Regions from separate parts of the Homo sapiens genome. Here region 2 is linked to region 1. Evidence: promoter capture Hi-C in 16 types of primary human blood cells and fetal thymus (Javierre and others, 2016). All regions are on one chromosome and are shown on one strand. Each heading gives the region's core, a stretch centred on a gene start or on the middle of the fragment in contact. The rest is flanking DNA. Distances are from core to core; before and after follow the strand shown. Region 1 holds the start of EFNB2 (ephrin B2). Region 2 has its middle 97 kb from the start of ERCC5.

What was found. Contacts are between HindIII fragments. The CHiCAGO score rates a contact against its expected background, and 5 or more counts as called.
Region 2: a fragment that was not itself captured here is called in contact with the fragment with the promoter of EFNB2 in region 1 in 1 of 17 cell types (total B cells); the score reaches 7.3 in total B cells.

What each region holds. Positions count from the first base shown.
Region 1 is chr13:106,532,463-106,537,930 of GRCh38, reverse strand. EFNB2 (ephrin B2) reads left to right here and starts at 2,269. Exons shown (of 5, transcript NM_004093.4): 1 at 2,269-3,088. The coding sequence starts at 2,967. RefSeq lists an enhancer at 1,172-1,241 and silencers at 1,822-2,481, 4,611-4,710, 4,771-4,830. The HindIII fragment of the contact is 2,990 bases long and covers 852-3,841 here.
Region 2 is chr13:102,940,104-102,945,571 of GRCh38, reverse strand. No RefSeq gene overlaps it. Among named protein-coding and RNA genes, the nearest start is that of ERCC5, 97 kb to the right of the region's middle. The HindIII fragment of the contact is 1,829 bases long and covers 2,115-3,943 here.

The DNA of each region.
Region 1 (5,468 bases), core at 1,020-3,519:
AGTGAGTACTGCTGATGCTTTTCACATTGTCTACATTGAATCTCTGTTGACTGAAACTAAGCTGTATATTCTCTCACACTATAGATGTTTTGTGTGTGTGTAGGATTCCTTTTCAGTCAAATACGCACTTTGTTTTGAAAAGGAAGCGATTTTAAAGTGTATATTTACATTTGTCCCAAGGTAAAACGCTTTGGATGTGAGACTTTCTGATTTACTGAAAATGTTATTTTTGGAAGCTGGCTTATTTTCAGACAATGCAAATTTCCTGTATTTCCTCTAGTTTACTTGGAGAGGAGGATGTAGTGAGCTAAGAGGTCACAATTTAAATTTCACAATATAAGTTTGTCAAAAGGTACTGAGTACCCAGTGTTCTTTTAAAAGATCATTAAGCTAACTTTATATTCAATTTCAATGAGTTCCTTAAATGGTATTTTAGCATACTAAAAACTAGCCCTTTCTCACCCTTGTCAAGGTAGGAGTCATAGTGCCTGCTGCTTCCTGGGTTGTTGGTGCTTCCTGGGAATCCGCTGTTCAAATCGTCATACCGTGGTGGAGCCTTTTTAAAATAAATTTTATATATATATGTGTGTGTGTGCATATATATATGTGTATATATATACGTATATATGTGTGTGTATATATATACGTACATATGTGTATATATGTATAAATATGTGTATATGTGTGTATACGTATATGTGTGTATATATATATTTAGTTTGAAGGCTTATTTAAAATGAAAATAAATTATGAAACTTTTCTGCTCTCAAAGATCTGTTTGGAAGAGTAAGTGTATTCAGTACTTTGTATGCCTTAATGTGTTTTCTATCTTAAACTAGTCTTCACAAGCTTTTACCACTCCAACTGAGATGTATACGTTAAGTTAGACTAATGTTTCAAAAACGGATACTTAAAAGCAACGTACCATAAAAATCTTCAGAAATTGTTACAAAGAAGAGTGAAAGAAAACAAGGTGTTTTACCATATGCATTTTTAAATTTAGCGTAGTGGATACTTTGTTTTAAAAATACATAATTTGTAGAATTACTGCCCAGTTTGTGTTTGAAACATAAATCCTGGGGTGGACGGCATTAAATTGAAAAAAAACGTGGGCATACAGTATATTTTAATTTTTCATACTGAATCGTACATTTGCACTGTGCCTTATTTCTACCGTGTTCTTCCTACTGTTGGACATATAAAAAGATTTTCCTTGGAACTGTGACTTGATTAGATGCTGCAGTATGCTGGATCCGGGTCGGTGGACCGCAGAGCGCTCGAGATGCGGAGAAGCAAAGCTGGCCGCTAGTGGGCGCTGTGGCTCCGTGGAAGTCACGGACGAGCGTCAGCACCGGCGCTCGACCGGGAAAGTAGCGAGGAGTTCCTGCCAGCTCTGCTCTGGGGTCTTGCAGACGCCGAGTGAGAAGCACATGCCTTGACTTTTCCATCTCACACCCTCTAAATCTCTGGTCACTTTGGGAAGCGCGCGTGTCTCCTAGAGGCTAGTGAGACGGTCCCCGCGTCGTGCCTGTGCCGGCGACACGCGGGGAAAGCTCCAGGGGCGCCACCTTCCCGGGGGGCCAGGAGGGAAGGGAGACGCCCGCAGAGAAGGCGGGAGGCGACGATGCTCAGGCCCTGATTAGAGCTGCAAATTCCGGCGCCGCGTCGCAGGAATCGTCTTGCAATTCCCGGCCCCACTGACTGAAACTGAGCCGTAGGCGATTGGTACCAAAATCAAGTGAGAAGCCCTCGCCGAGAGGCGTCGGGAGAAGCGCGCAGAAGCCGGGAGCTCTAAGGGTGCGCGCGGAGTGCAAGTCTTGCACGCGGGGCAGCGCCGCATCTGCGGAGAAGGGACGCCGAGCGGAGCCTGCTGCCTTCCGCACTGCTCGAGGGAAAGCCGCGCCCTCTGATTCCGCCGAGGGGGAAGGCGCCCCCGGGCGCGGAGACAGGTGGCCCGCTACTCGGCCGTCGCTGTTTCCACGTCTGCACCGCGCCCAGAAGGCCTCTCGCCGCCCCGGGGGCGCCCTGTGCACGCGCTGAGCGCTTCTCCTGCCCGGCTTCTGCTCCGCTCCCGCCGCCCGCGGGAGCCAGGGGCGGGGCTCACCTGTCAGCCCGAGCCCCGCCTCGCGGCACCCAATGTCGGGAGGGGATGGCGGACGGACGGACCGGCCGTCCAACCAGCGCGCGGCCGCGGAGCCGCGGGCCAATGGGCTTCGCGCGGCGGGGCGGGGCCCCGCGTTTATAGCGCTCTGACAGCGCGGCGGCCGCGCTGACTCTCCTCGGCGGGGACCGCGGCGCCGGCCGGAGCGAGGAGCTGCGCACGCAGCGGGTCCCGGCGCCCTCCCCGCACACAAAGGCCCGCGCGCGTCCGGAGCCCGCGGCGGGGACCGAGCTCCCTCTTTCCTGCCCTGGGGGCCGGGAGCCGCGCGGACTGAGAAGGCTCCTGCGCGCCCGGAGGCGCCCTACTCCGCTCCGTGCTCCGGGACATGGAACCGCGCCGACGCGGCGCCCGCGCGCTCGGGCCGCTGCCCGCTGCACTGGATCTATAGTCACAGGCGGCCCCGCTCGGGGCGCAGCGCCCGCCGCCCGCGCCGGTCGTCTCCGCTCCGGGTCTTTGTGTCCCAGCCCGCACCCGCCCCGCGCCCACCCGCCAGCCGCGGCCGGCCCGGCACCCTGGAGCCGCACGGGAGTCGGCCGTCCGAGCTGCGTCCGGCGCGGCGCCCCGGAACCCCGAGTCCGCCGCGCCGCCGCGCCCCGCGCGTGCGCTCCCGCCCCGCGCCCTGAGGGCCCCGGAGAGCGAGCGCACCTGGCCCGGCGACCGCTGGAGCTGCGCAGCGCGCCTCGGAGCTGCCTGCGGGCGCACGCCGTCTTCCCCGCCAGTCTGCCCCGGAGGATTGGGGGTCCCAGCCTGCGTCCCGTCAGTCCCTTCTTGGCCCGGAGTGCGCGGAGCTGGGAGTGGCTTCGCCATGGCTGTGAGAAGGGACTCCGTGTGGAAGTACTGCTGGGGTGTTTTGATGGTTTTATGCAGAACTGCGATTTCCAAATCGATAGTTTTAGAGCCTATCTATTGGAATTCCTCGAACTCCAAGTAAGTGGCGTCCGCGATCCCCCTATGTCCCCGCCCCGGGGTCCGCCGCGCCGTCCGGGCGGGAGGAGGGGTCAGTCCGCGGGGCCTCGGAGCCTGTTTCTGGAACCTCGGTTCCCCGTCCCCCACCCCCAACCCCCGCCCCATTTCACTAGGTGGAGACTCCTCGCTCGGCTTTCCAACCCGAGCCCCGCTGGAACGGACGGTCTCTCCGCCTTTCCTCCCCCGAACGCTCCCAGGCGCTAAAAGCTACTATCGGCTCGGGTGTCAAGTCCGGGAAGGTGTCCGATGGCGATACCTGACCCTCTCCTGTTTTCGAGGACGAAGGACATGGCCACAATCTAGGCTGGCCGGCACGCGGGGACTGGTGGGCTCTGGAGAGAGGCGGAGATGCTGCATTCGCGGGGAGCGCGGGCGGCGTGGTCCGGGGCCCGCGGGCGGGCGACCGGGGTGGCAGGACGCTGGCAGCGAAGCGCGTTCTGGAGAGGGGAGCCTGGAGTCGCTACGCTGCCCGCAGAGCCCTGGAGCCGGGGCGCCTTGGCACCGCGCCGCCAGCCCGAGGGTGCGCGGGGAGCTCGCCTGCTTCGCAGGAGAACTCGGGCGTCGAGCCCTTTCCTCCGCGCCGGGGAGACGGGCCTTAGGCTTCTCCCTGAGGGCCCGCCGCACCTCGGCCTCCCGCTTCGTTCATAAGCCGGTAGCCCCGGAGTATGCGGTCTCGATGGCCGACCTGATTGTAATGCACTTCCTATAAAAGCTTAGGGCCCTGCCCAGTCGACACTGCTCCTGAAGCCTTCTCCCTCGGGACCCTGGTAGGAATGGGATCCTTAGGATCAGATTTGCTCTTACCGGACTCTACAGCCGGGAGCGAGCCAGGCCTTGTGGAGAGTAACTTTCAGTTTGGGCCACCAGAGTGCATTCAGAATTTAGAAAATCCCATCCATCCCTAAATCTGTGTGGTCATAACTCGTAGTCATCTGGGTATTCAGTACTGTGTATCCCCTTATTTCGAATCACAGCCAAAACATATTTTACAGAATCTTGGAATTGTAGTCTCGGGAAACTTGGAGAAGAAGTATGCAGACATTAGCTGGTTTCTGGAGAAAACGTTTGAGATCAGAAGCAAAATCAATGGCCTAATTGAAGTTGAGCAAGTTGGGCCTGGTTTTAGGAGAAAAGAAATGGGGGATTGATTTAGAAATCACGTCTTAAAGGAGTGTGTCCATTCTCTTAAAAGTGTCAAATTTCAAATTCACTAACATGTTAACCAAGAATCCCTTCATGAAAAGGGCGAAAACGTCGGTTACAAATCGGTTTAAACAAATGTTTGTATGATGCTAGAAGGCACTTTCAACACCGCTCATACGGAGAAGTTACTTAGCTCTGCCTCCTTCCATGTAGTCTGCTCTTGCATGGATTATATTTTTAATGTAAATTGTTGTATTTGCTGATGAAGTACTGGCGGCGGCATCTTTGCATCGATGCCGGCTCGGGAGGCGCCAGGTGGTGCCGGAAGGAGCCGGGCTAGGACCTCGCGCAGCAGCGGGTCCCGGAGTCCGGGAGAGGCGGGCGGGCGGGCGAGGCGGTCGCGGGGAGCCCGCGGCGCCGCTGCCCGCCCGGTGCCTCCAGAGGTCACTCTTCCATGCGGAATCGCGCAGCGCCAGGCCTCGCCCCTCCCCCAGGCCGCCTGCTCCAGCCACTCTGCACTTTCACTGACCGGTTCTCTTTGAGGCTGTTTTTTTTTTTCTTATGAGGATTTAATATTTCTGTTTAAATCTAGTTGAAAGCAATTCCGTTAGCCTCTTCAGCGTTTAGTTCGGTGTGTGTATCTTTATCTTTGCGCTATATTAACTATTAGTTTGTGTGTATCCGGTAGGAGAATTAGAAATACCTAGTTGGGAGAAAAAGAAAAGTAGAACAATAGTTATTTCAACCTAAGGTTTAGACGTTAATAACTTCTTTTTGTAATGTGTCGAGATGGGGGGTCCTGGGGGGAGGTGACAGGTACTCACCACTCCCCCCCCCCATTCTGATGATGAAGATGAGTCTGTCTTTCCAGCTATGTCCAGACCTGCGAGGGCCCTGCGTTTCTGGAAGCCTGCCGTTTGCGCGGTTGAGGTTGCTGCTGCTGTCTTGTCCTCCACAGCAGCATTTCTTTTAAAATTCTCCTGATAACGGCCTGCCTGGATGACTGGATAATGTGTGCCTGGAAAAGGTCTCCCTTGCAGCTGAATGCTAGCTCCAGAGATCAGAAAGATTTCTTCCTGTAGGAGCCATAGGAAAGAGTCCTCTCTAAGTTTTTGAGAATGCATACAACCCCCTGATGACAGGGGGTCGCTTTCCTTGGGGAAGTTTTATATTTATTTCCAGAGGAAAGTTTGAATCG
Region 2 (5,468 bases), core at 1,780-4,279, 3.6 Mb after region 1:
ACCTTTTATGAAGGGCTGTGTCCCCTTCCATTTGGCACTAGTGACAAAGGTTAAAAATGCCCTTCTATAAAATACCACATCATTAAACAAAGCAACTCTGTAATTACCCACTATACAACTGGATAAATTCCAAGTTTTGTGATTATTTTAACCTACGTATGATCTACTTGTACAAAAAAATAAGTCCAAAGGATAGAAGAATAGATTTTCTCTTCAGCACGATTTAGTTTTGTTCTCACTTGTGGAAATTCGCTCTGCTCCTCTTGTTTGAAAAATTAAAATAACAAATATCAAGAGTTTTCTGCTCTTTCTATCTTTCTCTTTAAGTAACGATGCAAGCATATGGCTGTAGAACGTCAGGCTTTCTGCTTTCTGTGTTGCTAAAACCCAGCACTAGGAATGAGACATAAAGTGGCATCTAGCATATTAAAAACTCAAGCCCCACAAGCAACAGGTGCAAGAATAATGCCTAAGGAGAAGCTGAAGAATCTCATTATTATCATCTGATAGAGGCAAAACTCTGTAAAAGGCAAATCCTTGTTTCCCAATAGGATCAAGTTACACCCCACGGAGGCAAAGTCCCACCACTTCTCCAGTGTTGACTTCCAAAGGTTCCCATCCAAACTGCACATTTTTTCAAAGTACCAAGGGGCCAGGCTCTCTCACCAAGGTCCAGATAAATGTCCAGCTACCTCAGGGGTTCCCACCATGTCCCCTCTGCCACACTGAGAAGAAGGCTATCACCTGTGGGTAACTCTACAGAAGGAATGCATTCTGCACCATCCACCACACACTGAGATGAAAAAGAGTAAAAACTTTTTTGAAATCATCCTTCAGAATTTCCAGGTCACTGGAATTTAAAATCATGGTGATGACCAAGTACTTTCATCAAATATCCATGAAATACCTTAGGCATTTTTCTTAGTACAAATCCTAATACCTTGGCCAGATTTGCCCTTTGAGTGGGTGCGCTTGTTGACTATTTAGTTATTAACTATGAAAGTGGTGTTCTTGCTGTAGGCTCAGACCACTTCCCCACAGTACATTGAGCAAATACCCCCAAATTCCAGGAAGCTGCATGGACTTTCTATAAATGAAAAATCTAAAAAATAATGACAACTGTTGAAGTTGCATTCAGAGCTTACTATTGGTGCTTGACAACTTTTCCAGAAGATCACTGCTACCTTCTGGAAAATTGTAAAACAGAACATGTTGACCAGTGAGTTACAGGGTCTAACTCCAATACCCCTCAGGGACTCACTTCCCAGTTTCAATATTCAGACCCGGGAAGAAAGAGGGCTGTGTAATGACTGCTGCAGTTCAGGCAATTCAGCCTGTATTTGTCTCTCAGTCTTCCCCTTTCTGAGTTTTGGAATATAAATATACAATTAAATTATCTGATTTCTACACATATTGAACACTAAATGTAAGTTACTTGGAGCAATTAAGCATATATCTACTTGGCACTTACCATGCCAGACAGCCTGCTACTGTTTTACAGAAATTATCATTTTTAATCCACAGGACAAGCCCACTAATTTTTTTTCACATGAGAAAACTGAGGTTCTAGTAATTTAAGTGACTTCCTCAAGGTCACCCAATAAGGAAGTAATATAACTGGACACCTGTCTTCACAGCCCATGCTTTCTACTATGACATATTACTTCTGTGAATTTTAAGTTCAAAATGCTGACTTTATGTTTCTTAATCTCAAAACCTTGTTTTCTTTGTTGGTAAAGCTGTAACATCCCCAAGGTCATGGCTAATAATCGACAGTGGTGGGTACTGAATGCTGGATTTGGGGCTCTTTTTCTATATAACATCTTCAAAAGACATTGGACACGTGGTCTTAATCTGCCAATTTTTTCTACCCTCTAGTCTCCTCCCTCTCAAAACTTGGGGATCACCCTGAAAGCACCTTGCTTCTCCCTGACACATATCCCATCCATTAAAAAGACCTGTTAGTTCTACTTTCAAAATATCATTCAAATTCATCACTTCTTTCCAGCTCCAACAACAGCTCTAGGGCTAGTTGCCATTATCCCCCCGTGAGGCTGAGTGATACCCCCTCATCCATTCCTTTTCCTTCCAATCCCCCCAGTAGAGAGGAAGCTTTTGGAAATGCAAATCAGTTTATGGTACCCCATTACTTAAAACCCATCAGAGACTTCCTGTTTCATTTGGGATTACCCCGGTCTTTTCTCACCTGCTTTCCCTCATACTTCTTTGAAAATATCAAGTTCCTTCCCCCTTCAAGGGTTTTATACACACTATTCCTTCTATCTGGAGCACTCTTCTTCATTCAGCTTCAAAGATACTTCCTCATGGGAGATTCCTGTCCCTTTACTCCCATTTAAACTGGGTCCTCCCCTTGCCCTCTACTATGAACTGAGTTGTGTCCCCCAAACATTCATATATTGAAGGCTTAGCCCCCAGTGTGATGATGTTTGGAGATGGGGGCTTTGGGAGATGATTAGGGTTAGATGAGGTCATGAGGGTGGGGCCCTTATGATGGAATCAGTGCCCTTATAAGAAGAGGCCAGAGTGCTGTCTTGTTCTTGTGCTCTCTCTCTCTCTCTCTCTCCCTCTCTCTCTCTCTCTGTATCCCAGTCATGATGTAAGGACACAGCAAGACAGTGCCTGTCTATAAGCCAAAAAGAGAGCCCATACCAGAACCCAACCATGTTGGCATCCTGATCCCAGACTTGCAGCCTCCAGCATTGCAAGACAATAAATTTCTCTGTTTAAACTATCCAATCTATGGTATTTTGTTACAGCAACCTGAGCAAACTAATACACCCTCTTTAGTAGTTTTCCTAGTTAAGATATAGGCTAAACAGCAATAATAAATAGATCAAAAGATACAATGATTTAAATAAGATGAAAATTCATTCTTCTGCCTCATTATAATCCATAGTCCAAGACTATATGGGAAGTTCTACAGTCTACAACTCATGGTTTCTATCTTGCAGTAGAAGGCTGCAGTTTCAGTTATTATCTTCCAGCCAGCAGGAAGCAGGGAAGGACCAAGAGAATATACATGATTCCTTTTTGAGGCACACTCAGGAAGTGATAATAAAATTAATAATAATAATTCTGTTTATTTACCATTGGCCAGAACTTAGTCACTTGGGCAAGTTGCAAAAGATGCTAGATGCTTGGTCATGTTCCTGGCTGAAACTCAGGCGTTCTCTGACTAAAGATGGACAGAATGGAATTGATGAAAAGCGAACAGTCTCTATATTTTCTCTTCACAAGTTGTAACTCAATTAATAGTTACCTATTTATTTGGTTGATAATTTGTTCAATGACTCTCTTCTCTTTTGAACATATGCTTGATAAGGGGGAAACATTATACATACTTGGATCAGCACAATGTTCCCATGCTGGGCACAGTTGCTAGAATACATTGGATGATTCATAAATATTTGATGATTAGATGAATAGGAAATGTGTTCTTTAAGTATCATGCAATCTAATATGTCCACCTTCTGCTAAATAAACTCCTCAGGGGAGAAAGCATATACTCTATATGTGTGGATACAGGCATCTCCAGCCAACCCTGAGGACTCCAATGCTGCTTCCATTCCTTCAGCACCCATTTCTTCCTTAACACCTTCACCTGGGGCTTCTGAACACTCCATTGAAACTTTTTTCTTGGCCAGATCTGTTTCTCAGCCTAGTATTACATCTATTACTACCAATCACTTTCTACTGTTCTTAGAATTCTTTCCACCTTGGTTTTCCCCCTTTTAACAAATGCTACCTTCAAACCCCAAACCAAATAGGCTAGTTACCTTCAAGTTATTTTTTTATCCTTCTTTCATTCCACAATTCATCTTTACTCACTGATTCATCAATTCCTTCTTTCATTCAGCAGCTATTTATATCTGTTCTGTATACTGTGCTAATCAGCAAGAATACAAAATATGTAATATAAGCTTTCCTAAGGAAGCTCAGAGTCTACTTGACTTGAGTATTTTGGAGACAAACTGGAAAATAAACAATTCAAATGCAATGCAATGGGTGCTATAATAGAGATATGTTTAGAAAACTGTGGGAACACAATTATTGAGTACTTACTACTTTTGCCTCATTGGATCTGTTGTTATCCTCAGATCATCCCAACTGTAAAGACAAGGAAACTGAGAATCAGAGTTAAAGAAGATATCCAAGGTTAGACTACCAGGAAGTGAGAAAGCAACTGCTAATTCAATACTATCTGATAACAAACTCACTATCTTTTCCCTCTACAATGCACTAATGTAAATGCTATCTTGCCCTAATGCAAGTTCTCTTAAGATGCCACCTAGTTCTGCCTCTTCTCATCCACAAGAACCCAGCTCAAGCCAGACCCAAATGGCATCCTCAATAGATAAATGTAATGGCTTCCCATGTTCTTTGCTTCAATCTAGAATCCTTGTCAGAACAGCAGACACTACCAGAGGGAAGATAGTGCAGAGGAAAAAAACACCACCTGTGTTTGCCACTTATCCGTTTTATATTGCTGCAAACTACTCCAAAACTCTGTGGAATAAAACAATTTATTATCATTCATAGTTCTGAGTGTTGACTGGGCTCAGCTGGGTGGTTCTTGCTCAGGGTCTCTTGTGCAATTGCAGTTGTTTGCTGGCAGGGACTGGAATCATCAGAAGGTTTCTTTATTTACATTTCTGGTGCTGGGGTAAGACACTGGGGATTGGTCAGATGTCTCATATGGTTGGCTTTTGCTACCTCACAGGACAGCAGTTGCAGGGTAGTTAGATTTTGTACATGTCAGCTGGCTATTCTTAGAATAAGCTCAGTTTTCTTAGCCATAAAATGTTGAAAGCAATGTCTAACTCACTGGGTTGCTATGAGAATTACCTGGAATTGAGTGTATAAAATGCCATGTGGCAGGTAGGCTCTCAGTAAGTGTTAGTTCTCTTTCCCCATCATGTTCCACCCTCATTCCCCAGCAGGTGATAGAACAGGATTTTTAAAAGTTTGTTAAATGAATGAATGAGTGAAACTACGCAATGCATGGAGCTTCCAAAGTAATCATCCAAGACACTATTCATAATGTCATCCTCCTGCTTAAGAATCCGCAGAACCTTTGAGTTGCTAAACAGAACTCTGGGTCCACCAACCTCTGCTATCCATTCCCCATGCCTCCTGCAGGCAAACCTCAAGGGCTCTTCTGACGGCTCCCAGCCCTCCCTCTGACACAGACCGTGGTGCCACAACCTAGTGTATGTTTACAACTGCCCCCTGCTGGCACAGGAGCCAACTGAAAGAGCTCCCAATGGCCAGGGCAGAAGCAATTTAGCAACAGGATAAAGTAGTACTGTATCATAACCCAAAGTATAAATTAAATGTCCATGGGTCCATACTGATATAAATAAGTGATTGAGTAAATTAATGAACGAGGGAAAAGAAACAAATCTCGCGTGAAAAATTCCAAGTGATTTATGTAAATATGTTACCCT